Linked DNA regions of Homo sapiens: all the other regions are linked to region 4. The links are contacts of gene promoters, found by promoter capture Hi-C in blood cells and fetal thymus (Javierre and others, 2016). All regions are on one chromosome and are shown on one strand. Each heading gives the region's core, a stretch centred on a gene start or on the middle of the fragment in contact. The rest is flanking DNA. Distances are from core to core; before and after follow the strand shown.

Region 1 (7,002 bases), core at 2,158-4,657, 4.2 Mb before region 4:
GTGGTGAGCAGAGATCAAACCATTGCACACTCCAGCCTGGGCAGCAAGAGCAAAACTCCGTCTGGGAAAAAAAAAAAAAAAAAAAGAACACTACCTTTTGGGTATAATGTACACTACTCGGGTGACAGGTGCACTAAAATTTCAGACTTCACCACTATACAATTCATCCATGTAACCAAAAACCGCTTGTACCCCAAAAGCTACTGAAAGTAAATAAAATCAATAAAATGAAATTTTAAAATGTAAACGGAATAAATTATCCAATCAAAAGACCAGAAAAATGGGAGTAGAAGTGAGGGAGCGAGGGAACACACTAATTTTTTTCTAATATACACAAAAAACAAAACACAGAAAACCAGAAACATTTTCTCTTTTATTTTTTCACCATCTCTCATTGCAAATCTTCTACACGCTAATAGATTCTTTTTTTTTTTTTTTTTTTTTTTTGAGACGGAGTCTCGCTCTGTGGCCCAAGCTGGAGTGCTGTGGCGCGATCTTGGCTCACTGCAAGCTCCGCCTCCCGGGTTCACGCCATTCTCCTGCCTCAACCTCCCGAGTAGCTGCCAGTACAGGCGCCCGCCACCACGCTCAGCTAATTTTTTGTATTTTTAGTAAAGACGGGGTTTCACCGTGTTAGCCAGGATGGTCTCCATCTCCTGACCTCGTGATCCGCCCGCCTCGGCCTCCCAAAGTGCTGGGATTACAGGCGTGAGCCACCGCGCCCGGCCGCTAACAGATACTTTCAACATTGGTACAGATCCCCTCAGATTTCATCTTCTCAAGAGCAAAATCAAATCATTAATGTAAGCCTGTTAAACTGGATGGCCACTAACTATGACTTCCCCTGGAACCATGTTGCAAGGACCGCTTTTTCAAGCAGCTTTTCCTTGCCTTTCTGCTAGAGACCGGTTCTAGGTAAAATCGCCCAGCAAGGCAACTTGGAAAAAAACTTTAAAAAATTAATTAGTTGGAAATCATAGAATATGCCAGGATTCTAGACAAATAACTAGTGTCCGAGTCCCCTCCTTGCCCCAACATTGTCTCCCCACCCTCTAGAGTTCTCTACTCTGACTACAAGGGTAATACATGTCAGGGTGCCTCTAGGATACTACTTAAGCATCCTGACAGTGTCTGATCTGAGTGGTCAGTGCTCAATGTTAAGTATTTTGCATAAAAATGCTAGTTTCCCCTGTGTGTGTAAATATACATATATGTTTATATGCATATTTGTGTGTGTGTGTGTGTGTGTGTGTGTGTGTGTGTTTAGGCCAGGATTCTAATAGCTAAAACAAAGATTCAGAGACAATAAATAGAGCAGCCCTGCAGAAAAGGGGAGTGTTGCCTTGCTGAGAATATTCACAGTTGGTCTGATGGTAACATGGGGTGTTCTACTAAATGACAGTTTGATCTAGATGATTTGTTTGTTCAAAGTATCTTTCATCTCCTAGGGATAAAAAGCCCTGCTTTGTCACATTTGCAATTTCCCTCATGTAAATAACACCCACTATGGCTCATTTCAAGCTTCCCAAGTGACATCACTGAATGGAAAGTTAAAGAGAGAAAGTCTTTCAGATGTAAACAATCTCAATTATATTTATAAATAATAGTAAAAGGTAGTGGAATCACTAGCATATGAATTTTGAGTATCATATTTGCTTTTAACATAATGTAATTGCAAGTTTGCATAATTTAATATTTAATAATAATTGCATTTAACAACTAGCTCCCAAAATCCTTGAAAATTTATCACTGGGTAGGAGTGAGCATGTCCCATTGGCTCCAGCACACCACTACATGTTGCTCTTCAGGGACCTTAAAAGATACTTTGAACAAACAAATCATCTGGATCAAACTATCTCCAGAGTTCCCAAGGGTGCCAACCTCTTTGCTACCCCACTTTAGAAATACCCAAAACACAGGTTAAACTATGCACAGTATTTATTAAGAATGCCATTTACAATACCTTACACTTGTATCACGCTTTACACTTTTCAAAGTAGTGCTTTTATGGCACGGTGGGACTGTCTGACCCTGCAGAGTGAATTTAAATCGCTGGGTAATAGCTTTTTAATGTATAATGGGTGAAAAGATAGTCCTGGGAGCCGTTTGTCAAAGAGAAAGGCGAAGGAGTGGAACTGGCAGCCCCACAAGGAAGTCGGGAAGCTGGTTGGCCCCTACCCGGTTCCTGGTTCTCTCCTGGAAATGGCTCCAACATTGTGCAAGCAAGTGGGTGTGCAATAGTTTTGAGCACGCATCTCTCTCTCTGTCTCTCTCTCTCTCTCTCTCGGATTTAATTAGAATTTCCGTTTTTTCCAACAAAGAGTTGGACGGGATACGTTCTAAGACTTTTACAAACTGTAAAATGATGAGCGAGGTAACATTCAAATATGCTCTTAACAGAACAGCTCAGTAATGGTTTCCTCCACATCAAAACGTGCCTATTGCTGCAGCAGACGCTTATGCAGAGTCTACATGCACTCTCACCGCAAAAATTCACACAGCCAGTAGTCGTGGCCGAGTGGTTAAGGCGATGGACTAGAAATCCATTGGGGTCTCCCCGCGCAGGTTCGAATCCTGCCGACTACGGGAATGTCAGCTTTTTGCCGTCAACACTTACTTTTTGTGTTTTAGAGCGTTCTGCTCAAACCTTCCACAGATTTCAGGAATTTACAAACGGCTGAAACACAACAGGGACCCAAACGGGAGAGGAGAGAATGAAGGGGCGAGAATGCGTGCTTGTGGTTACAACGTGGGCCCGGGAGGGGGAGACGGGAGGAACCACGCCAGACATGCTGAAAGGAAGAAACGCAAAGCATCGCGAGTCACACAGACACACTGCAGAGACAGCTCCGAACTCTGTCCCTGCATACGCCCGCCCCTCACGAACCCACCGCGTTCTCTGCCGCGAGCCCTCGTGGGCGCCGGGTTGCCACGGGAAGCGGTGCGCATGCGCGGGGACGCCTAACGGGGCAGGAGCCCGCCAGGTCCCCTCGTTACTCCTGGAAACCACCGGAGCCTTGGCGATTGGAGGGGAAAAGGCCAGGCGATTCAAGATGGCGGAGGACCTGGACGAGCTCTTGGATGAAGTCGAGTCCAAGTTTTGCACACCTGACCTTCTAAGACGGGGTATGGTCGAGCAGCCCAAAGGCTGCGGCGGCGGCACCCACAGTAGCGACCGGAACCAAGCCAAGGCGAAAGAGACGCTCAGGTTAACCGGGCGGGAGGGGTGGACTGTTCTGGTAAAGCCCTGCTCCAGGCCCTAGAGCTGCCCCTCCGCCGCCCAACCCAAAAGAAACGTGCCCGCGACCTCCAGCCCCTCCTTGCATCAGGGTTCAGACCCTCAGCGCCCTACCCTCCGCGGCAGCGCATTCGTCGACCCTCTTCGCGGATTCTGGCACCTCTTCACTCAGCGCAGACTCCGCCCCCCGGCATGCCCCAGAGGGCTGGCCCCCGCCCCGCCCCGCCCCGCCCCGCCCCGCCCCGCCCCGCCCGCAGAGCCCGCAGTCCGCGCCAGTCTCCTTCATCCTGTTTCTGGCTGCCAGCGCGTAGGAGGTTCTAGTCGGGGACCGGGATACCCCTCAGGCGCCCCGTTCTTAACCCCGAGAGGGCTGTGCTGACCTCGGCCGCATTTTGCCTCTGTGTGGCCAAGCGGTTCTCATCTCCCTGTGAGGTGCCCTGTTAGACAGCCTCATCCCATTGCCTCAGACCCCACTCCCCAGGTCAATCCTATTTGTCTTTAGCTCAGTTTTGTTGTTTTGTTTGTTTTTTGAGATGGAGTCTCGCTCTGTCGCCCAGGTTGGAGTGCAGTGGCACGATCGTAGCTCACTGCAGCCTCCAACTCCCGGGTTCAAAGATCCTCCCACCTCGGCCTACCCTAGCTGGGATTACAGGCACGAGCCTGTAATCTGGGATTACGTAAACTGGGATTACAGGCACGAGCCCGGTTAATTTGTATTTTTTGTAGAGACAGTCTCACTGTGTTGGCCAGGCTGGTCTTGAACTCCTGAGTTCAAGCTGTCCTCCCGCCTCTGCCTCCCCTAACTGCTAGGATTACAGTTGCGAGCCATCGCACCTGACTCAGTTTGTTTTATTTTTTTAACTCAGGGAGTTAAGATGAGATTAAATTCATTACAAAAGGGTTAATTATTGTGAACATTAAACCGTCTACCTTCCTTCTCTCCATGGCCCCCTAGTTAAGGGTGCCAGACATACATATGGAAATTTAAGGACATTTCTTAAGGTATTTTGGTTTTTTATCTAAAAACTACCTTTCAAATTTACCAGTCGTTTTTCCTCCATGTAATTATTAAATAATAGGATTTCCTTCACTTCCTCATTTCCCCCACAACCCCTCAAAAAAAAAAAACAAAATGTTTGCATAAGAATATTGACCTTCAGTAACTCTTGCTAGAATCTTTTGGAAATTGCCTCTTGCCTAGAATATTTTGGAAACGCTTGTGAAATTACACGGAGGCAACTTTGGATCAATCTAAGAACGTCATCTCCGTTAATTTTTTTGCTGCATCTTTGGTTTGGTTTTGGTTTTTTGGTGTGTGTATGTGTGATTTCCCAAAGTATTATCCAACTCTGTTACTATCCAGTTCACCTGGCTTACCTCCAGTGATATTTATTTATTTTATTTACTTATTTATTTATTTTTGAGTTTCGCTCTGTCGCCCAGGCTGGAGTGCAGTGGCCCACCTCAGCTCACTGCAAGCTCCGCCTCCCATTCCCCTGCCTCAGCCTCCCGAGTAGCTGAGACTACAGGCGCCCGCCACCACGCCTGGCTAATTTTTTGTATTTCTGGTAGAAACGGGGTTTCACCGTGTTAGCCAGGATGGTCTCGATCTCCTGACCTCGTGATCCACCCACCTCGGCCTCCCAAAGTGCTGGGATTACAGGCATGAGCCACCGTGCCCAGTCAGTGACATTTATTTATAAAAATTCACTCTGCGAAGATAAAAGCATCGAAAAAATTCTAAAGGAGTACATAAACAAAATTTCTAAAAATTAGTTGAGTTCTGAGCAGCATTTTAAAACAAAAATTAGAAACAACTATAATTACTATGAATGGGCTAACACTCATTTGGCTGGATGTTGTAAATATCACTCTCATTAACTTTTATTATCTTGTGTACTGGAATTCCTTATGTATCTATTAGCGCATCTACCATCCCTATCCCACAACAGTGTTGCTTTGCAATTTCTTTAGTACTTTTCGTTTGTCCTTCTAGGGGATAGAACTAGTCTATCAAGGAGCTTTTCAGAGCTGTTCATCTTAGGAGAACTAGCATGCGGAGGGGCAGGATGTATTGAAGCCAGCTGCTCAAAATGGAAAGGACTATTTATGTGGATCTTCTCCAACCATGGGTTGTGTCATGCCTGTTCTTGCTCTACTAAAATTCATCCATAATATTTCTAGTACCTCAGCCCACCTTAATACATTAGATTTTTTTAGTACTAAGTAACATAAAAGCCTTAGTGAAACAGTACTGTTGTCATTTATATTAAAACTTTTCATCTGGCAATGTAGTTGTAAATTGTACAAAAAACAGCAACAAAGGGCCTAAACCTTATACCAAATATAGTCCCAACCTGGTTTATAATGTTATATATTAAAATTTTTCCTTGAGCCAAAATTTATACTTAAAAGCTAGGAAGCAATTTATGTTTGAATTTATTGACAGGAGATTACCTACTAATTGTATAGCAGTGTAACCTGTATCTCTTATAAGAGTTAAAATACTAATATTACCTCTTAAAATGATACTATAAATGCAAATAATACTATAAATGACCATGCTACATCTGGATACCAGGAACAACTGCTAATGTAAGAGGTCAAAACATGCAATTTGTTGAAGTGTTCAAAATGATAAAAAGAAATATGTGATTAGTAAAAAAATTAAAAAAGACTGATGTGGGTTGAGAAGAACTGCAATAGGAATAAAGTGGTTCAGGATGATACAGATGGGAATATTTAAAGATAATATAGCTTTCTAGATGATAACTATAATAACAGCCAACATTTATTGAGCTCTTTCTGTATGCTAAGTGCTTTGTATATGTTATTTCATTTAATCTTCACAATCCCATGCGTGAATACTGTTATCCCCATTTCATTGACCAAATCAATGCTTAGTTACTTGCCTAAAGTCATATTGCTAAATCACAAGGACATAGTAGATCTAGATTTAAGCTTTCTATATAATACCTCTCACATTTAATTATAGGTTTAAGTGTTTATATTTTATCTTAAATATATGTTTTATTTTCAGCAGAAACTATATCTTTAAAAGATTAGAATGTCAGAAACAGAGTCAGAAAGGGAACCAGTAAAAGCTTATTAACATTTGATTGAGATTATTGTCACATCAAAAGACCAAAAAGAGTCTTATACAGTCCTTTAAAATTATGAGTTCTCAATGAAATGTTGACTTTATTGTTATTACTATAGCAAAGCATAGGCAAGTGTAGGCATTTTGAAATTGTGTGATCTAAGAACAGACCAGAATCTTATGTAAGCTGGTAATTTGGATCTGTAACAGTACTGATTAGGTTGGTGGAGTTTGGATGTATCTGATTCTTGAAATTGTGAAATTGCATGAGGGAGGAGAACCCGGAAAGTATGTCCTGAAAGCCAAAGGAGAGAATTTTAAGAGGACATCTTAGCAACCTCTTATCGAAAAAGAAATATAAGGAATTGGTACCCAACAGTGTCAGATGCTTCTGAAAGATTAAAGAGGATTGGAACTGAGAACCACCATTAGATTGTAGTGATTTGGGCAGTGGAAACCTTCGAGAGAAGAGTTTCACTATAGTTGAGGGATTAGAGGCCAGAAGTAGAATATTATACCTGAAAGAAATTTTAAATAGTCATCTAGATATCATTTTTATAGATAAAATATTTGAGTTTCAGAGAGATTAAATAATTTAAACTAAGTCGGTATCTCTAGACTGGTGATGATTTTGCCACCCAAGGGGCATTTGGCAATGTCTGGA
Region 2 (6,555 bases), core at 2,905-5,404, 4.7 Mb after region 4:
TCACTGTAATCACCCTGTATCAAGTTTCTAGAGTTTGTTTGGATCAAGTCCTTGGCAATTATCTTAGGCTGTTTTAAACATCTGGAAGGTTCAGATGTTAAGCTCTCTTTGTATTTACATTACACATGTGTACTTAAAGAATACTTGAGGGCTGGGCATGGTGGCTCATAACTTTAATCCCAGCACATTGGGAGAGAGGGCAAGGTGAGAGGATCACTTGAGTCCAGGAGTTCAAGACCAGCCTGGGAAATAAGGTAAGACCCCCATCTCTAAGAAAAATAAAAAATTAGGCAGGGCACGGTGGCTCATGGCTATAATCCATCCCAGAACTTTGGGAGGCCAAGACGGGTGAATCACTTGAGGCCAGGAGTTCGAGACCAGCCTGGCCAACATGGTAAAATCCCGTCTCTACTAAAAATACAAAAATTGGCTGGGCCTGGTGGCATGCACCTGTAATCCCAGCTACTCGGTAGGATGAGGCACAAGAATCATTTGAAACTGGGAGGGAGAGGTTGCAGTGAGCCGAGATAGCGCCACTGCACTCCAACCTGGGTGACAGTAAGACTCTGTCTTAAAATAAATAAATAAATAAATAAAAATAAAAAATTAGCTAGGTGTCGCGGCACACACCTGTACTCCCAACTACTAGGGAGGCTAAGGTGGGAGGATCGTTTGAGCCCAGGAGGTTGGTTAAGGTTGCAGTGAGCCATGATCTTGCCACTGCACTCTAGCCTTGGGTGACAGAACAAGACCTTTTCTCAAAAAAAAAAAAAAAAAAGGAATATTTTAGCTAGCTAGCTAGAAAAATGAACTCTGACAGAGCACACTAGGACCCCAAATAACCAATTCAGTTTCTACCAACAGTTCTCAAACTAATGTGCATAAAATCTCTTGAGATATTTGCAAAAAATGAAGATCCCTAAGCTCCACTCTCAAGGACCATATCAGAGATCTCAAAGGATACTCAAGAATCAACATGTTTAATAAGCATCCCAGACGACTGTTATATAAGGATTGCGCTTTGACAAACACTGGTCAATACAATATTTCATCTAATGATGGTGTTAATGATTTCTTGTTCCCAGGCTGCACAGCAAAACCATCACTAGCTGATATATTGCCAGCCATGTTAAGTCAGTATCCCAGATTTCGTGCTTACCCTTTTAGCAACTTTTTTTTTGTTTATTTGGCCAGGCCTGGTGGCTCATGCCTGTAAATCCCAGCACTATGGGAGGTCGAGGTAGGGGGGATCACTTGAGCCCAGGAATTCAAGACCAGCCTGGGCAACATCTCTACTAAAAAAAAAAAAAAACTAGCTGAGCATGTTAGTGCGTAACTGTAGTCCCAGCTACTTGTGGGGCTGAGGTGGGAGGATTGCTTGAGCCCCCGAGGTCAAGCCTGCTATGAACCATGATCACACTATTGCTCTCTAGCCTGGGAGACAGAGCTGTCGGAGACCCTGTCTCAAAAAAAAGCTGGGGGTGGAAATTTGATAAGGAGCTCTGCCCATGCCAAAACGAAGCTAGAACTGTCTTTGAGAAATGAGTAGCTCACAGCAAAGTGAATACTTGTTTGAATTTTCAACTTCATAATACTGAATTACGAGCAATAAACATGATTTAAGGGCTTACGTTCTAGCCACCATGCTTTCTGCTTTATAAACATTATTTCAATTAATCCTTACAAAAATCCATTAAGGATGGTATTCTTTACATTTTACAAAAGAAGAAACTGAGGCAATCCTGCCATTAAGCAATACTACCAGAAGTCAGGTCTGCCTGACTTTAAACTGTGACTCTTAACCTGTATGCCAAAAGTGCCTCTACCGTTAAAAACTTAAAAAGAGAAGAACAATCTAGTTTGTTTACTTCTAAGGTAAAGAATATCCTACTTTATACAAAACAGGTTCATTTAACTAATTCTCCTCCCCAGTCTAACTAAACACAGACAAAAAGTAGGACATCTTGGCAAGTTGGGGCTAATGTGTAACCACAGTATCCTAATTTCAAGTCAGGACTCAACAGTCAGCTTCCACCCAGCCCAGTCAATCAGATTTATGAGTATACTGAACAGCTATCAAAAGAACTTGTTTTCCTTGTTTCCTAAAAGGCTATCATACCTACATTCTGTTAATGCTAGGATATTTTTTAACTACCCAAATAATTTAGGGTAGGGAGGACAGCCATCAAGAAGCACCTTCATGTAACTCTATCCGTGCCCTTCTTTGTGCCCTGGCCTTTCCTATTTCTATAAATCATGTTTCTCAGTACATCCAATTACCAAACTCCTCCCCGCAACAGCCAATGTACTATTTTCAGAAATTTGCAAAGAGATTTGCATTAGGATGCAGGGGCCCGTTTTTTAGTGTACATGAAATGCTTCAAAAATGCTTCGCAGCTATGCACTAATAACCTAAATTCTTAAAATGAAATGCATTCACTACTCCACTCAGAAGCTATAATGTAATAAAAACTAAACACTCATTTTCTTCATTTCACCTTTAACCATGGCATTACTTAGCAGCCAACTTGAACTAAAAACAAACAAACAAAAAATACTGCTAAGACTAAAATAAAGCGATAGTGGATAAGGTTAAGTGATAATGCGAGAAAAACCCAGATAGCAATCAATGAATCTACCTGTTCTTGGAAAGGAGAAGCAGCACCTTATTCATTGTATTTCCATAAGAGAGGATTACCATTCCAGTCTCTAGAAGGAAAGAGAATTCTCTCCACTATAATGACACCTCTCCAAGGAAGAGTAGCTTATCCCAAGCTTTTTCAAGACACTGCAAACAGAAAATGCCATTGGGGCTTGGAGCGCGTGGGGGACAGGTTGCTCACTCTGGTCAAGGCCAGAGTGATAGTCAAGAAACCCTTCTCCCCTAGGTCTCAAATCCAATCACAAGGGCAGAGGGAATCGATCTCTGCCCATCTGTGGCCCATTTTCTGCATGGGATGCTGTCTGTTCCAATTCACGAGATCGGGTAAATCACTACTTCCAAGCAGCATGGACTCTTGGGTCCTGTACTTTGTTAGATCCCACTGCCCTCAAGCAGAAGGCAAGTCAATCCTACCCTATTATGGTGGCACACTAGGAAAAACCTCAGAGGCCACAAATGTTCTCCTCTTTTCTAACCAAGGAGAGTGCTAGGTATTCCCATTTGCGTAGTAAGCCAGATGTGCTGTCATTTGCACTTTTTAGACTCAGCTTTCCCTGTGGCATGCTCAGACTCAAAATCCAGATTTGCGGAAAGTAGTAAGCTGCCTAAGCTTCAGCTTCCAAAACAGTTTTCCGTAAGTCCTGTTTTGGTATAGTAAAGCTGATGTTATACTTAAATAAAATTTATGGTAATCTGTTACATGGGTGGCCCCAAATGGATTCACACATTTGTACCCTTGAACCTGGGCTAGATTTGTGACTTGCTTTAACCAGTATAATAAGGCAGAAATGATACTGTATCCCTTACAAGTCTAAACCTTAAGAAGATCTGGTTGCAGACCAGGCACGGTGGCTCACGCCTGTAATCCCAGCACTCTGGGAGGCCGAGGCGGACAGATCACCTGAGCTCAGGAGTTCCAGACTAGCCTGTCCAACATGGTGAAACCCCATCTCTACTAATACAAAAATTAGCTGGGCATGGTGGTGCACGCCTGTAATCCCAGCTACTCGGGAAGCTGAGGCAGGAGAATTGCTTGAACCTGGGAGGTGGAGGTTGCAGTGAGCCAAGACTGAGCCACTGCACTCCAGCCTGGGTGACAGAGTGAGACTCCCTCTCAAAAAAAAAGATCTGGTTGCTTCTGTTTTGTACTCTTGTGAGCCCTAAGCCATCAGCTACCAGGTAAGGCCAGCAACTCTGCTGGAAAGGCTACTTGGAGAGAAAAGCAGCCATTAGAGTGATCACCAGCAAAACCTGCCCAACTGAGCCCAACCCAGGAAAGCAAAACTGTAACAAAGAAAATGGTTGTTTTAAGTCACTTGGTTTAGGGCTGTTTGCTACACAGCAGTACATAACTGAAACAACACTCACCTGGTTCCTTGTGTGTTCTGCATAATTTGTTCAAACCCCAGAAAAAGGAGAGGTATAATTAATTACACTCCGCAAAATTACAACCTGAGAAGATAAAGTTCTATGCCCTTGTTAATGTTAGTGATTCCACTAAACTCCAGGTTCCAAGAGGAAAGGCTTCATATCTGTCATCTCAACACTGTACTCCCAGCACCTAGAAATATGTCTGGCACATAGTAGGTACGCCAGTATGTGCTGTGAGTGAACTGTAGATTTAAGAAATGTCAAGACGGCCAGGCGTGGTGGCTCATGCCTGTAATCCCAATACTTTGGGAGGCTGAGGCGGGCAGATCACCTGTGGTCTGGAGTTCAAGACCAGCCTGACCAACATGGAGAAACCCCGTCTCTACTAAAAATACAAAATTAGCCAGGTGTGGTGGTGCATGCCTGCAATCCCAACTACTTGGGAGGCTGAGGCAGGAGAATCTCTTGAACCCAGGAGGCGGAAGCTGCAGTGAGCCAAGATTGCGCCATTGCACTCCAGCCTGGGCAGCAAGAGGGAAACTCCGTCTCAAAAAAAAAAAGAAAAAAGAAATGTCAAGACTAAATCAACAAATGCTACTCTTCCTTATAACTTAAAAACCATGCTAGTCTTCCTTATAACTTAAAAACCATCTGACGTATGGTTTTACATTATACATTCCCTAAAAAAGTTGTTTAAATGTATGAATTGAAGCATCCACTAAGGAGGGCTTTTTAATATCTTTGGGTTTTTTTCAATGGTAGAGCTTATGATCTAATACAAAAATAATAAAATATCATGATACAGGTTGAGTATCCCTAATCCAAATATCCAAAATCTGAAATACTCCAGTGAATGTTTCTGTTGAGTAATGTAGGTGGCTCAAAGTTTCCCATTTTGGAGCATTTCAAACTTTGAATTAGGGATACCCAATCTATATATATTTTGGAAATTAGATCCTCATTTATATCCTCAAAAAATGTAAATTTTTGAAGACTAAGCTTTTATAAAAGGGAAACACAAACTTCATCTGTAAAAGCAACAGAATTAAATTCAAAATTTTCAAAAAAATAAATATCTACATTTCACCAATGTACTTTTCCAGATAAGAAATCAACTTTTGCTTTATCCTTGACAGGAGAATAACTATTCTGTGGTACAATGCTTACAAATTTAAATATCACCTACCAATAGCCACTGCAGTGAGATTACCATTTTAACACAAAGGAAAAAACTGACAAGTTTACCTCTACACGGTACAAAAGTTTAACACATTCCAAACAGGTAAATTCAAATCCTTCACATACAGCTCTTAACTAATGATGTTCCATTGTACATGAAGAGTAAGAAGTCTGGTGGGAAAAGAATACTGACATAGGAACAAAAATAAGGGTTTTAGTTGTAGTTCTAATTGTGGCCACTAACTAGCCACATACTTTGGAAATTTAACTTTTTAAACTTTTTTTTTAGCCTCAGCATATTCATCCAAAAAGCAATGATTGGCTGGAAGCGATGGCTCACGCCTGTAATTCCAGCACTTTGGAAGGCCATGGTGGGAGGGCCACGAGTCCAGGAGTTCGAGGCCAGCCTGAGGAAACACAGCAAGACCCCATCTCTATAAAAAATTTTAAAAATTTAGCTGGGTGTCATGACATACACCTGTAGTCCCAAGTACTTGGGAGGCTGAGGTCTAGGCTTCAGTTTAGCCATGACTGTGCCACTGAACTCCAGCCTGGGCAACAGAGCAAGACCCTGTCTCAAAAATAAATAAATAAAATAAAATAAAATAAAATATAAAGCAGTTATTACTTCCTAACACACCAACTTATCAGTTGTCATGAGAACCAAATGATAAATATAGTTATTATTTACAAATGTGAAATGCTATACTAACATAAGGTATAGTACAATTCTTAATGCCAGCAAAAACAATAAAATTCATCTGTGTATGTTTTTATCATTTTTCCTCCATTAAGTATTAGTAACTAGTTCCTTGGATACCACTATAAAGGGCAATTTATTGGATTTTCCAATGCTCATTATAATTGTATCATATTTTTATACAAAGAGTAAAAAACAACAGTCTTTCTAATAATTATGAAATCAAAGTTTATTAACATGTAATAACATGCTATGATTACCTATTACCAGGGAGATAATCTTACAGGTGCAGAAAAGTCAACTGTTTACCAATCGCACTACACTTTAACCGTACTAGCTAGCTACTTAATCCACCCAAAAAAAATTGAGTAGGAATCTTCATTTACATTGTGAAGTCTCCATTTTTATTTGATAAAGGCTTCCTGAAAGAAAAGAATATTCTGAAGGTATAAATGAACAGAGAAGATAAAGTTCTTTTTTTTTGAGACAGAGTCTCGCTCTGTTGCCCAGGCTGGAGTGTAGTGGCGCAATCTCGGCTCACTACAAGCTCCGCCTCCCGGGTTCACACCATCCTCCTGCCTCAGCCTCCCAATAAAGTTCTTAAAGTTTCTTATTTCACTTACATCACCTCTCTCCTCCCTAC
Region 3 (6,419 bases), core at 1,300-3,799, 4.5 Mb after region 4:
AGAGCAAGACCCTGTCGCAAAAAAAAAAAAAAAAAAAATTATGATGAGGAAAAATAAAACAAACGTTTTATACTCTTTTAGTATGAAAGATTTGGCTGGGATAAGTCACCTGGCAAAGAATGCATGAGCAACTAAAGAAGAATTCTATGTAGTATTTTACTCCTTAAAGAGCAGGATAGAAAACACAAATAATCCCTAGGATTAGACAACAGCTTCCCTACTGTACAGATTATTACTTGTTGGACAAAATTTGATCCAAACACGTCTTCTGAAATGCAAATAATCCCTAGAAACACCAAATATATCAATAATTCTCCCAGTCACCCTAACGTTCTGAATCAATATTATAACAGAGATAAACATAAGGAGCTGAGAATTAAGACCTAATATTTAAAGTGGTACCTGATATGTGAAATTTAAGGCATCTGGTCATTCCCATGCCCTGGCTGAAAATCCTGAAGTCTTATCTACTTCCTCTTTTCCCATTCCTCCTTAAACCTACTCTTAGATTTATCCAGTAAAGATGTCATAGAGATTCTGCCTACTAGAACCCCAAATCTCTCCCAAACATGGAGATACAGCCGCTTTCCCATACCCAGAGTCACAACCCTAACTTCAGGTCTTCTGTATCTCTCACCTGCCTTATATAATAGTCTCCTAATGGGTATTCCCACTGCCATTTTCTCTCCATTCACATTATGGTTTTATCACTTCTGATTAAAAAGTGATAGTCCAATGAACTAAGCCTGGAATTCATGGCTCTGCCAACATCTACCCCTAATCTACCTGAACAGCTACCTCTGCCCACCCAAGTTCTTCAAGATCCACTTCAGGCCGGGCACGGTGGCTCACACCTGTAATCCCAGCACTTTGGGTGGGCGAGGTAGGGGGATCACTTGAGGTCAGGAGTTCAAGAACTCAGCCTGGCCAACATGGTGAAACCCTGTCTCTACTAAATATACAGAAATTAGCCAGGTGTGGTGGCAGGTGCCTGTAATCCCAGCTACTCGGGAGGCTGAGGCAGGAGAATCACTTGAACCAAGGAGGTGAAGGTTGCAGTGAGCCGAGATGGTACCACTGCACTCCAGCCTGGGCGACAGAGTGAGACTCTATCTCAAAACAAAACAAAACAAACACTTCAAATGATACTTCATTCATACAGCTGTTGCTGATACCCTGCTGATACCCCTCATGCTGTTATGGCACTGATTCTATTTTCTTTCCACTATTGTTACTTGTATTTGTGGCTCATCACTCCGTCTATATACTGTGAACTGTGGGCAGCGAACATATTTTACCACTTCCTCTTCTTCCTGAAGCATGACATCTGGCACAGGTTATTTGTAGCAGAAAGAGCAATAATGCTGGAGTCAGCGTGTGTCATTCAAATTTCTTTCCCATCACTAATTTGGATGTGTCACCTCTGCCAAATTGTCTATCTGAACTTCAATTTCCTAATTTATAAAATGGGGATATTAAAAAACCCTGACACTAGTCCTTCAATGTAAATAAGGCTAAGAGAGAAAAATAAACTTAATAAAAACCCTGACAACTGTAGGTCTGTAGCATGCTCAGCATATAATAGACACTCTATGAATTGTAGCAATTATTTTATTACTGAGTCAGGGATTTTAATTGATTGTCTCAGCATAGATGGCTTGTTATTAAGTAGTAAGACATAAAGCAGCTTTCTCATCCTTACTTATGAAAAGCTTCTTGAAACAATAATGATTTTTGGGATTTACATAAAATTAATTTGGTGAAATAGTCAGCCTTGAGTATAGATAAGGTACGCAGGTGAGGGGAGCGCAGGCTCATGTCAGTGACTCAAAATGTGTCCTAAAACAATTGTGAAGGAGAAGTCGGTGCCTATCTACAAATCCCTTTAGTAAAGTTCCTTCAGTCTTCAGCTGAAAAATGAAGAGACTGGCCTAATGTAAAAAATTCTCAGAAGTTCTTTCTGGTTCTAATACCATGATTCACTAACTGCTATTCTGCAGTACATCCTGCCTGACCGCTATTGAAAGCAAGCAAGGGCAACCCTGGGGCAGCTGGAACCGGCCCAGCAACATCAGCAAAACACACCCTAGGCAGTGTTTCTCAAATTGTGTTGCTCAGAATAGTAATAAGTGTTCCCCTACTAAAAAAAAAAAAAAAAAAAAAAAAAAAAAGCAGCGGGCGTCAGGTAATATGGCTGTAAATCCAAAGGCTGCTATGCTCCTCAGAGTTCCCAGGTCAGACTAGCAAATGTATTTATTACCAGGTTACTGTAAACCCATTATTTTGCTAAGGACAGCAGGGACATTATACAGCAACAGAAGCGCTTGTAGCTCATTATAATCAAATTGGGGAGACCCATTCATAAAACAATTACTTACTGAATACTTTCTAGGTGTTCCAAAAGTGAGGGTTGGGGGAGGCAAAAACGAAATAAATACTTAGCTACTTAGCTAACTATGTATACATAGAAATAGTATACAAGAGTATAAAATTGTGTGGTACAGACAGGGAACAATCAAAGTGCTCTTGGAGCTGAAGAAGCTCCCCAGAGATTTCTACTTTTACTGACGATTAAAACTATACTCCACTACAAAAAGAATTTGCAGTATTATTGCTACTGACTACCAGATTTCTTTTTCACCCTTACATTCAAGGGTAGACAGTAAGAAAGTGGGGAGTAGAAGAATAAGGGGAAAGAAAAGATAGTTAATAATTCCATACAACTGGACAGATTTTGTTTTTTTTTACAATTTTCAAAGTGCTTCCAAATAATATATTATCTTCTGAACCTTACAAAAACTCTGTGAGTTAGGCAGGATAATGATTACTACATGGTGGAAGGTCCATATGTCACAGGTATGACTATAATATAAGGCACTCCAGTGTCTGAATTGATTGACCCAGAATATGTTGATAATTTTCAGCACATTGTTAATCTTCAAAATAATGCATAGTATATATTAGGAAAAAAATATAAATTTCTTCAAAAAGGTTAAATTACTTACATGGGATCACAAAGCTAGTAAGTGTCACCACCACAGCATAAACCCAGGTATTTTCCCCTTTATGCCAAAATCCCTTCAGAGCACTAAAGCCTCTAATTAATAGTTAATTAGCTGTCAAGTAAAAATAGTATTAGTAAAAATAAATAAACTCCATAGATGTAAACAATTATGATTTTTCAATTAAAAACAATATCAAAAAATAGTTACTTAGTATAACAGCAATATTCTCTATTAATTTCCTTAAGTCTTGTTAATATCAAAAGTAATATTCAGCCTGACACAAATTAATAAAATAGGAACTTTAAAATTACAAGGTTAATACTGAGGCTAAAACTAGTTATATGGTTCTTAAACAAACGTAACCAGAATAACAAAAGCTTGCCAAAGAATGGAAGAACTGGAATGGTTTATATTTTATTTACCTCATAGCAGTTCCTCTTCAAGATAACCCATTAAATTGTAAATTACTTAAGGCTAAGAAAGCAAGTTCTCCTTGCTAGTGTGTCTCTACACACACAGGTCTGCCATGTGTGTAGGTGCCATTAGATCGTCTTAGAGCAGCAACATTTATTCTCAGGAATATACTGCACTTAATATCCAGACTCTGAGAGTAAAAAACTCACATTAAAAGAATTTAAACTACGCTTGTTCTGTATTTAGTAACAAAGTGATGCCCAGATGTATTTTTTTAATCACTACCACAGGATACCAGAAATGAAGATAGGGAATAATGTCAAGCATAAATATACATAAAACAAAACAAAAAAGAAACAAAAAGGAAGAATCACTGGATCAGGTGTCAAAAGAAATGGACTGGGCAGATCACCTGAGGTCAGGAGTTTGAGACCAGCCTGGTCAACATGGCAAAACCCTGTGTCTACTAAAAACACAAAAATTAGTTGGGCATGGTGCACTGTAGTCCCAGCTACCTGGAAGGCTGAGGCAGGAGAATCACTTGAACCCAGAGGTAGAGGTTGCAGTGAGCCAAGATTGCGCCACTGCACTCCAGCCTGGGTGACAAAGCAAGACTCCGTCTCAAAAAAAAAAAAAAAGAAATGCCTGGTTCTGTGTTAGTCACACCACAATGGCAGGCATTTGGGCAACTGCTGTAACTTCTCCAGGCTTCAGGTTTTTTCAGCTGTTAAATCTTTTTTTTTTTTGAGATGGACTTTCACTCTTGTCGCCCATGCTGGAGTGCAATGGAGATCTTGGCTCACTTGCAACCTCCGCCTCCTGGGTTCAAGTGATTCTCCTGCCTCAGCCTCCTGAGTTGCTGGGATTACAGGCGCTGCCATCACGCCCAGCTAATTTTTGTATTTTTAGTAGAGACGGGGTTTCACCATGTTGACCAGGCTGGTCTCGAACTCCTGACTTCAGGTAATCCGCCTGTAATCTGCCCACCTTGGCCTCCCAAAATGCTGAGATTACAGGCGTGAGCCACTGCGCCCAGCCTTCAGCTGTTAAACCTAAGAGTTGAGTCAATCCCTTTCTTTAAGTAATTCTTAAGGTCTTTTCCATTAATGTACTATAACCCTAATTTAATTACAGTGAATATGGAACTTGTTTAGGAAGTGGTACTAAAGGATTTTTTAAAATGAATAGAAAACATTAGAATATTTATAAGTACAAAAAGGAGAAATGGAAGAAAAAGGATAAAGTTTTCCAAACTCAGTCTCCATCTCTATCAAAAAAGCTATATCTGGGGCCAGGTGCGGTGGCTCACGCCTGTAATCCCAGCACTTTGGGAGGCTGAGGCGGGCGGATGGTCTGAGGTCAGTAGTTCAAGACCATCCTGGCCAACATGGTGAAACCCATCTCTACTAAAAATACAAAATTAGCTGGGCATGATGGCGCCCACCTGTAATCCCAGCTACATGGGAGGCTGAGGCAGGAGAATCGCTTGAACCAGGGAGGCGGAGGTTGCAGTGAGCCAAGATCGTGCCATTGCACTCCAGCCTGGGCAAAAAGAGCCAAATTCCATTTCAAAACAAAACAAAAAAAGCTATATCTGAAAAAAATGTATCTAGAAACTTCTCCACTAGTTAGGTACCTTTGCTCAAAATTGTTATTAAGTGCTCAGATGACTTAAATAAACAAACAAACCACAGGGCCCAGTCTATTAAGTAGATGCAGCACAATAAGGAAATAAATTTTATTAGCATCCATGAAATCTCACATTATTAAGCTCTTAGCATCTATCATGGCAGCAAAATAAATCAGCTTTTAGCCACACTTCAAAAAGTTTCCAGATTCTTAAACTATCTTGAGCAGGATCTAAATAGTGATACCATTGCTGATGCTTGGACATGCAGAACGGAGGAAAGCAGGAATTAACAGGTGTGATCACTCTAACTTCAAAAATAAAAAGTAGGTGCAGTTTTACCTTCTCTTTATCATTACAAAGTAAGCAATCAACTAAAGACCCTTCATTAATTTCTCTAAAATCCTGGTATTGTTCTATTCCATGATTCATAACTGGCTACAAAGTTTACTTAACATATGTTTCAGGTTTTACCACTTTTCTAATCCCTTGGCTACTGTATATACATTTTGGAAGTATCACTGATTGTATTTTCAAGTCCATCAATTCAACAGTTCATCATAGGTTCATTTAGTGAGGTATTAATAAAAGTTATTAATAGAAGCAGGGTTGGGCCAGGCACGGTGGCTGATGCTTATAATCCCAGTACTTTGGGAGGCTGAGGCAGGCAGATGGCTGGAGCTCAACAGCAGCCTGGACAACATGGCTAAACCCCATCTCTACCAAAAATACAAAAATTAGCCAGGTGTGGTGGGGTGTGCCTGTGGTCCCAGTCATTCTGGAGGCTGAGGTGGGATTGCTTGAGCCTGGGAGGTGGAGGTTGCAGTGAGCCGAGATCATGCCACTGCACTCCAACCTGGGTGGCAGAGTGAGGTCCCATCTCACAAATAAATAAATAAATATTTTTTTTTAAAAAAGAAGGGCTATCAGAACTTATTAGCTACCTAAGCAGAAAAAATAAAATTAAAGTTAAAAAGTTAAAAATAAGAACTTACTAACATCAGTGTTGCTAAAGTTGGTATACACCCCCTACTGCTAAATTTGACTGGCTTAAGAAAAAAAGAAGCAGTGGTGATGTCTCACTACTGTCCCACTTTATGGAACATGCATCTTGGCAAAGCTGGCTATAAAATACATGTCTACAAAGTGAATCACCGTTTACCCTCAATGAAAATCAGTGCTGCATCCCCTAGCTGAAAATCCCAAGTGTTCAGTTGAAAAGTTTTCCATTATAAGGACTAAGTAAAGCTGCTGGCCAGCTGTGCAGCAGGCAGGCTGGATCTGATATTAAGGTACACCAACCTGTGAAGACTGAAGTCTCCTGGGGTTCTCATTCCCCTCAGACCACATTAAGAATTTCCCCCCTTCTGGAA
Region 4 (7,020 bases), core at 1,076-3,575:
TATGCCTTGTTACCTGGAGATGAAGTACATTAAAGGCAAGGAAAGTTGGGAACTTGATAACTAACAAAGTTAAAGAAATTTAGACTATATTTAATGTAAGGACCATTATAAAAAGCACAGACAAGCTGTACTTGTCAACAGCAAACCAAAAATCAACCAAAATTTAAGTATGGCAGATTAAGATTTTACATAGACATAAGAACTTTCTATCAAAGATGGAGTGAGGTTGTGGGGTCTATATGACCCTTCATATCCAAAACCCATACAATAAATACCACACTATACAAAGCTGTAACAGAATTCAGTATTCACTTCCTGGAGTAAGATAGTTCTCATTTGGAATTCTGGCTTTGGCAATCAACAGCTGTTACGACTCCTGGACAAAGTTCTTAATCTCTCTAACCCTGTTTCCCACTTGAAAAATGGGATTATGTATACTTACTTCATAGGTAATACCTCACAGTGTGTTACTGAGGTTAAATGAGATAATACATATAAACCAAAGTATTTGACACATATATATTAGATCCAACGATAAAATAAATATTAGTTAAAATTATGAAAGTTAGGATGCTCCAACTTACCCAAGAAACATCAGTAAAATTTCATTCATTACAACTTGTTAATAAAGCACTTTTATAACAAAAATGACTTCACGTTCACTTTCTTGATTCTTACAAAAACCTGTGCTTAGAGTGTAGAAATATTTGTATCGTATTATATATGTGGGAAAATTTGAGCTCAGAAAGATTAAGTAACCTTGCTCAGGTTACAATCCCATTCAGTCGCAATTCTGGGATCAGATGCCTGGTCTTCCAACTTTGATTTGGTGAAGCTTCATCTTTTGGGCAAGTAAATAGGTAAAGAAGTATAGCACTTTCTTTGCCGATCTCCCTTATAGAAACACACTGCCCTGTAAACTTGGTCACAAAAACATTAATGAGAAGTGATGCATGAGCATAACTAAGTGATTTCATTTCCCTACCAATTTTATGATTTTAGATAATAAACAGTTTAACAGGGCCGGGCACGGTGGCTCACGCCTGTAATCCCAGCACTTTGGGAGGCCGAGGCGGGTGGATCACAAGGTCAGGAGATCGACACCGTCTTGGCTAACATGGTGAAACCCTGTCTCTACTAAAAATACAAAAAATTAGCCGGGCGTAGTGGCGGGCGCCCGTAGTACCAGCTACTCGGGAGGCTGAGGCAGGAGAATGGCCTGAACCCGGGAGGCGGAGCTTGCAGTGAGCCAAGATTGAGCGTGTTTTGCAAAGCGAGACACCGTCTCAAAAAAAAAAAAAAAAGCAGTTTAACATTTAACAGAAGTGGACAGCTGTTTTCAAATGGTGTAGGCAACGACAAACATTTATTTCACATACCTTATTCTCCTTAGTAGTCAGCTTCAATTGCTCCAGTTCCTCTCTATGTTTCTGTTCCATTTCTTTTTCCAACTTGGCCACATCTTCGGTGAGTTGCTTCCTCCTCTTCTTGTCATTCTTGGGAACAGCATTCTTCATGCCCTGAATTTTGGCTGAAAAGCCATTAAAATCATTAAGTCAGACACGCAGGAGTAAAAGGAGATGAGAAACAGGAACCAATAAGGGGATGGTAACGGGCGAAGGGTACAGAAAAAGTAATTATGGAAGAAAGAGTCATCACGTAACAGGCAGCTACAGAGAGAGAAGATCCCAGATAAAGCTGAGACCAAAAAAAAAAAAAACTTCATTAACAAAATCTTGAATATGTTTCGGTTGTTTGGCGAGATAAGAGAAGGAAAAAAACCTGACTGTAGCCAGTTTTAAATCTTTCCGGTATCCTTTCTGAACCTCCTAAACTGAGGCGGGTCCATTCAAAATACACCCATTAGGGACAAGTATCGGTAACTGGGGCAGGTATAGAAAAGGGAGGCATCGTGGGTTTGGGAGCGGACCAAGACGGCGGCTTCTAGGTATTTTCAGACACCTGCACCCCGGCGGCGGCGCGGGGTAGGGGGCACGCCGCAGGCCTCAGAAGGGGAAGCCTCTGAAGGTTGGGGAATTAAAGGGCCGCCGGGGTAGGTGAAGAGAGAAGAGGCCACTTGCTACTAGGGGAAGTCTAGGGTGATCCAGATAAGTCACGCCTTGAGATTCCCCAGAATCGACCCGCCACGCGCCCTTCCCCCAGTCGCGGCGGCTTCCAGATTCCCACTTCCTTCCGCCTCACCTTGCAACTCCTTCTTCTCTTTGCGATGCCTTCTCAGCAGCTGCTCTTCCTCATCAAGCTCTTCGGTCAATACCGCCTCCATGACGACCAGGTACCCCAGCACACGCGCTAGAAGAAACCTGCACCGGCTAGTAGGCACCTTCCACCCCTCAACCCTCACCCGGGGCTCCATTGGCTACGGCTGGGACCCAGCCCCGCCTTCAAGGCGGCACCGGATCTAAGCAAAGCCACTGCAAAGACGAGAAACTTAAATGGGGTGCTGCGCGTGCGCGCTACCGTGACCCTGCCGTGATGGGCGGGGCGGCAGGGGAGGAACCAGACTGCGAGCGGAGAAGCGGAGTTTGCAGCCTCGGAATTGGCTAGAGCGCCAGAGCCGAGTCAGCCATAAAGCTACGCGCTAGGCTCTTGGCCCTGACGTGAGGCGCGCAGAGATGGCGTAACGGGAATAGTTTTCAACGTCTATTTCATTCCCTGCTTCAGAGGACCTCTTTAATCTTTGATTTTGGTCCCTGTTTCTAAGAAAAGCAACTGAAAAGGTAAGAAAGAAAAATAACGCATTTTAATAAAGCCGTCGATAATTATCAATGGGAATCTTTGGGCTGTTTGGGGCTGTGTGGAATTAAATTATGTTTATTGTCTCCAAGGTCGTAATACCGCCCCTGAGAAAAAAGGAGCAGCGCTAAATAATCGAGAAAATGCCTCCTCTTGAAACGGATATAGAGATGGAAACAAGATATAAGAAGGATTGAGAATCATATAATACAGGAGCTTAAACACCTATGCGCGATGATAAAGAGGGTACTATTAGAGCGCTTGGAAAATACCAGGAAGTTGAGAGAGTTAACAGAAGGGCGCACGCTGGATTGGCCACAAAATCGAATTACTGAAGTAAGTGCAAAACGACAAATTGTCACAGAATACAGAGAAAAGGGGAAAAGAAATTAAGAGGAGAAAAAGAGAGATCTAGAGGGCCGGTCCAGGAGATACAATCTATGCATAATAGGAATACCTGAAACTGAGGACAGAGCAAGTGGAGCTGAAACAATAAAGGATCTACTTGAAAAAATTTTCCAGAATTGAAGAACGAACTAGATCTACAAATGGAAAAGGCTCATAGGATACCTTTAAAGTTTAATGAAAAGAAAGCAGCATCTAGACATATCCGGGTGACGTTTTTGAATTTCAAAGACGAAACATTTTACAAGCATCCAGTCAGAGAAAGCAGGTTACTTACAAAGGGGCAAAAGTCAGGCTGACCTCAGATTTTTCTCCTGCAATTCTAAATGCCAGAAGACAGTGGAACAATATCTAGAGTGTTAAGGGAAAATAATTTTGAGCCAAGAATTATATACTCTGCCAAGTTATCATTTCTTTACAAAGGAAACTGGAAGACATTCTTAGATATACAGGGGTTAGGAAAGTATATCAACCAAGAACTTTCCCTGAAAATTTTGCTGAAGGATTTACTGCAGCTAACAGAGAACCTGAATTAAAATAAGAATAGGGAGGCAATTGTATGAAAGAACTGATGGTATGCATTAAAACTAGTTAAGGAGCATTAAGTTTAAATTGTTATGTATAGGGCATTAAAACTAAATACAAAAATAGAAACATAAGCTGGGTGTAAAATTTCAGTTTACGTTTAAACTGGAAGGGCATACCACATGTTCAATATATTGGACAAATACTGTTTTATTTTTAGCATGTAGTATTGTAGATACAAATACGCATGTTCTTAAGCTAAACCTAAGTAAAAGGGCTTTGTCACTGTAGATTTGACAAATAACATTCTAAATGTCAAATCTGACAATTGGAAAACAGTACAGTTTTATTTCCCTTATTTTTAAGTATAGCAGGAAAAAAATAACAAGTTTGTCCATGTTACTACTGATACTGTAAAGAAACTTCCAAATCACTGGTTTGGGAGGGGGTGGATACATCCTCATTTTCTGTACATGATGCATGGGGAAAAACAGTAGTTACTGCATCATATAGTTCCAAGTAAATCATATAGTTCCAAGTAAATTTGACATGGAAATAAGTGTTAACTACAAAAATAGAATATATACATTCCAATGTTTGGAAAAGAAGTGGTAAAAAGAAAAATAGCAAAAAGACACTAAAATTAGCAAAAAGTAGATTGACAGTACAGATGACCTATAAACTGGTTAAATAGCCCTATTACAATTGAAATTGGGTCAAAAATCAATCTCTAACCTGAGATACATTTGTATAAAACAAATGATCAAAGAGTTTAAAGATAATGGAAACTATAAATCATAGAAATGGCAACATTTTTCTTAAAATCTAAACATAAGACATTTTATGTAAAACATACAATATAGGATGTAACATTTAACAAACTATATGGTAAATAATATGACATTAATATATAAAATATATGTTCCAGATCTTGATGTGGGTGATAGTTTTACTTATGTACATCGATATACATCTATTTAAAAACATGTACATTTAAATTGTTGCATTTTATGTATTTAAAATTTATTGAGTAATCCTTCTGTATGTATTATTAAAGAGAATATAGCAAAAAAATATGTTGGACTATGACTTCAACATTTATGATTTCTTTTTTTAGAGACAAGAGGGTCTTGCTTTGTAGCCTAGGGTGGAATGCAGTGGCAACATCATAGCTCACTGCAGTCTCCCAACTCCTAGGCTCAAGTAATCCTCCTGCCTCGGCCTCCCAAAGCACTAAGATTACAAATGTGAGCCACCAACCCAGCGCAGTTACAGCTTTTGATAAATCAAGTAAATGGGAAGTTAAGAGATAAAAGGTAGTTAAATAGTTAAAATATGTGTGTAATATATATATTACTTTTCTACCTTATTTTTGCATTCTCTTCAAATTATCCTGAAGCATTTCTAAATGATTTTATACTCAAATGTAGAGAAAACTTTAACATATTTCTAGAAAGCACTCGTGACCACATTACAAAAAAAAAAAAACCCTAGAAAATAATAATTTTCAACCCTGAAAAATCACACACTTGGAATTTTTTTAATGTTCTTAAATAATCTTTCGGTCAAAGAGGAAATTATAACAAATACTGATGATTTAGGAAATACAACAATGAAGATAATTATACTTTACATGCTATGGGATGGATGTAGAAAAGGCAAGAAACAGGAATTAAAACACTAAGTGAAGAATGGAATATGCATGGGAAGGACTCAGTAACTAAAGTTCTTCAATTTTGCTACCTTTCAAATGAGGAAGTAGTCTGCCTTCATAGTGGATTTATCCCCAATATGTTATGAGACCACAATTTACTTATTTCTCCCAATTGAGCTTTAATGTAGCATAATGAATTCTGAGCATCTGACAATTGATTCTCAAGGAAAGGAAAGCCCAAGTCTCCTTTTTTCTTTCCCCTCCCTGCACTGTTTCCCCTTCACAGACCTCCATATAACAATATTTTAATGTACAACACTTTTATTGAAAAGTATGGCCTTCAGAAAAACAGCATTGGCATTACCTGGAAACTTGTTAGAAATGCAGTATCTCAGGTCAATAGCAGCATAGTATTAGATTATAAAATCTTACATATTTACAAGACTTCTCAGCACAGTGCATTATACATTGTGAATGCTCAGTAAATGCTATCCAGAATATATGTAGAAAAAAATATTTGGATGTTGCCAAAACATTAATAGTACTTATATCTGTGTGGCAGCTTTTTGGATAGTTATTTACTTCTTTATGTTTTTTAACATATATTAAAAAGCTATTTTGCTTTTATAAATTAAACATTTCCGCAGAAATTTTGAAAAGTATATAGATGATGATAAATGTTACCTGTTGTATTAGTACATTCTCATGCTGCTATAAAGAAATACCCAAGACTGGGTAATTTATAAGGAAAAGAGGTTTAATTGACACAGTTCTGCATGGCTGGGAAGGCCTCAGGAAACTTAAAATTATGTCACAAGGTGACAGGAGAGAGAGTGCAAAGCAAAGAGGGGAAAAGCCCCTTATAAAACCATCAGATCTCATGAAAACTCACTCACTATCATGAGAACAGCATGGGGGAACTACCCCCATGGTCTAATCACCTCCCACGAGGTTCTTCCCCCAACACGTGGGCATTACAATTTGAATTACAATGAAGATGAGATTTGGGTGGGGAGAAAGAGCCAGACTGTTTCACCTATGATCCCACCATGTAGAGAGACCCTGAAAACAGTATATTTCCTTCTGGTCAATTAAATTACTATTCAAATTTAGAATAATACTATATATAAATTTCTGCTTCATTCACTTGCAGTTATAGACATTTTGCCAAGTCAATTATTTTTCAAAAACATTTTTAACCGCTGCATATTTTCCCATCACACAAAATAGCTGTCACTTTTTAGCCCTTATCTTGCTTAACTTCTCAGCAATATTTGACACTATTTACTGCAATATTGGCATGATTGACTCTCCCTTCTGTCCACACTTCTACAAAAACCCAATGTGCTCTTCCCACCCAGCTGTCTTAGTTTCCTGTTTAACCTGCTTGATTTCTCTCCATAGCAGTCAACGCCATCTGAGATGTCCTTGTTAAATTGGGTGTTGCCTGTCTCCTCTCTTGGCTTCTATGATACACCCTCTTCCTTTTTATCTCCTTTGGTTCTGGATGCTCCTTATTGACTCTTCTATCTCTTCCTGAAATTTGCTGAGTTCCCTAGGGCTCTGGCCCAGGCTCATTTTCACTCTACATACTTTCTGCCAACTTCATCCCATTCTTCAATTACCACATCTATGTGCCAACTGGACCTTTCTCTCAAGTTCTAGTGTGTATTAAGATTCTC

The links. The method cuts DNA at HindIII sites, captures the fragments that hold promoters and counts their contacts. A CHiCAGO score of 5 or more calls a contact.
Region 1: the fragment with the promoter of CFAP418-AS1 here is called in contact with the fragment with the promoter of OTUD6B in region 4 in 1 of 17 cell types (activated CD4 T cells); the score reaches 5.7 in activated CD4 T cells.
Region 2: a fragment that was not itself captured here is called in contact with the fragment with the promoter of OTUD6B in region 4 in 1 of 17 cell types (naive CD8 T cells); the score reaches 5.1 in naive CD8 T cells.
Region 3: a fragment that was not itself captured here is called in contact with the fragment with the promoter of OTUD6B in region 4 in 4 of 17 cell types (non-activated CD4 T cells, activated CD4 T cells, total CD4 T cells and 1 more); the score reaches 6.5 in non-activated CD4 T cells.

The regions. Positions count from the first base shown.
Region 1 is chr8:95,265,241-95,272,242 of GRCh38, reverse strand. It overlaps CFAP418-AS1 (CFAP418 antisense RNA 1), which reads right to left and starts at 3,407. Exons shown (of 4, transcript NR_038209.1): 1 at 3,353-3,407. It overlaps CFAP418 (cilia and flagella associated protein 418), which reads left to right and starts at 3,042. Exons shown (of 6, transcript NM_177965.4): 1 at 3,042-3,208. The coding sequence starts at 3,054. TRS-AGA2-5 (tRNA-Ser (anticodon AGA) 2-5) reads left to right here and starts at 2,505; the gene lies at 2,505-2,586. RefSeq lists enhancers at 2,301-2,380, 2,417-3,056, 3,011-3,450. The HindIII fragment of the contact is 4,678 bases long and covers 1,524-6,201 here.
Region 2 is chr8:86,346,263-86,352,817 of GRCh38, reverse strand. The region is part of intron 1 of WWP1 (WW domain containing E3 ubiquitin protein ligase 1); the gene reads right to left. Among named protein-coding and RNA genes, the nearest start is that of WWP1-AS1, 5.1 kb to the right of the region's middle. The HindIII fragment of the contact is 1,760 bases long and covers 3,275-5,034 here.
Region 3 is chr8:86,518,301-86,524,719 of GRCh38, reverse strand. The region is part of intron 2 of CPNE3 (copine 3); the gene reads right to left. Among named protein-coding and RNA genes, the nearest start is that of CPNE3, 7.1 kb to the right of the region's middle. RefSeq lists enhancers at 1,263-1,312, 1,333-1,432. The HindIII fragment of the contact is 1,670 bases long and covers 1,715-3,384 here.
Region 4 is chr8:91,065,649-91,072,668 of GRCh38, reverse strand. It overlaps OTUD6B (OTU deubiquitinase 6B), which reads right to left and starts at 2,325. Exons shown (of 7, transcript NM_016023.5): 1 at 2,203-2,325; 2 at 1,380-1,531. The coding sequence starts at 2,284. It overlaps OTUD6B-AS1 (OTUD6B antisense RNA 1), which reads left to right and starts at 2,480. Exons shown (of 3, transcript NR_110438.1): 1 at 2,480-2,738; 2 at 2,847-3,090. RefSeq lists an enhancer at 2,098-2,277. The HindIII fragment of the contact is 11,349 bases long and covers 838-7,020 here.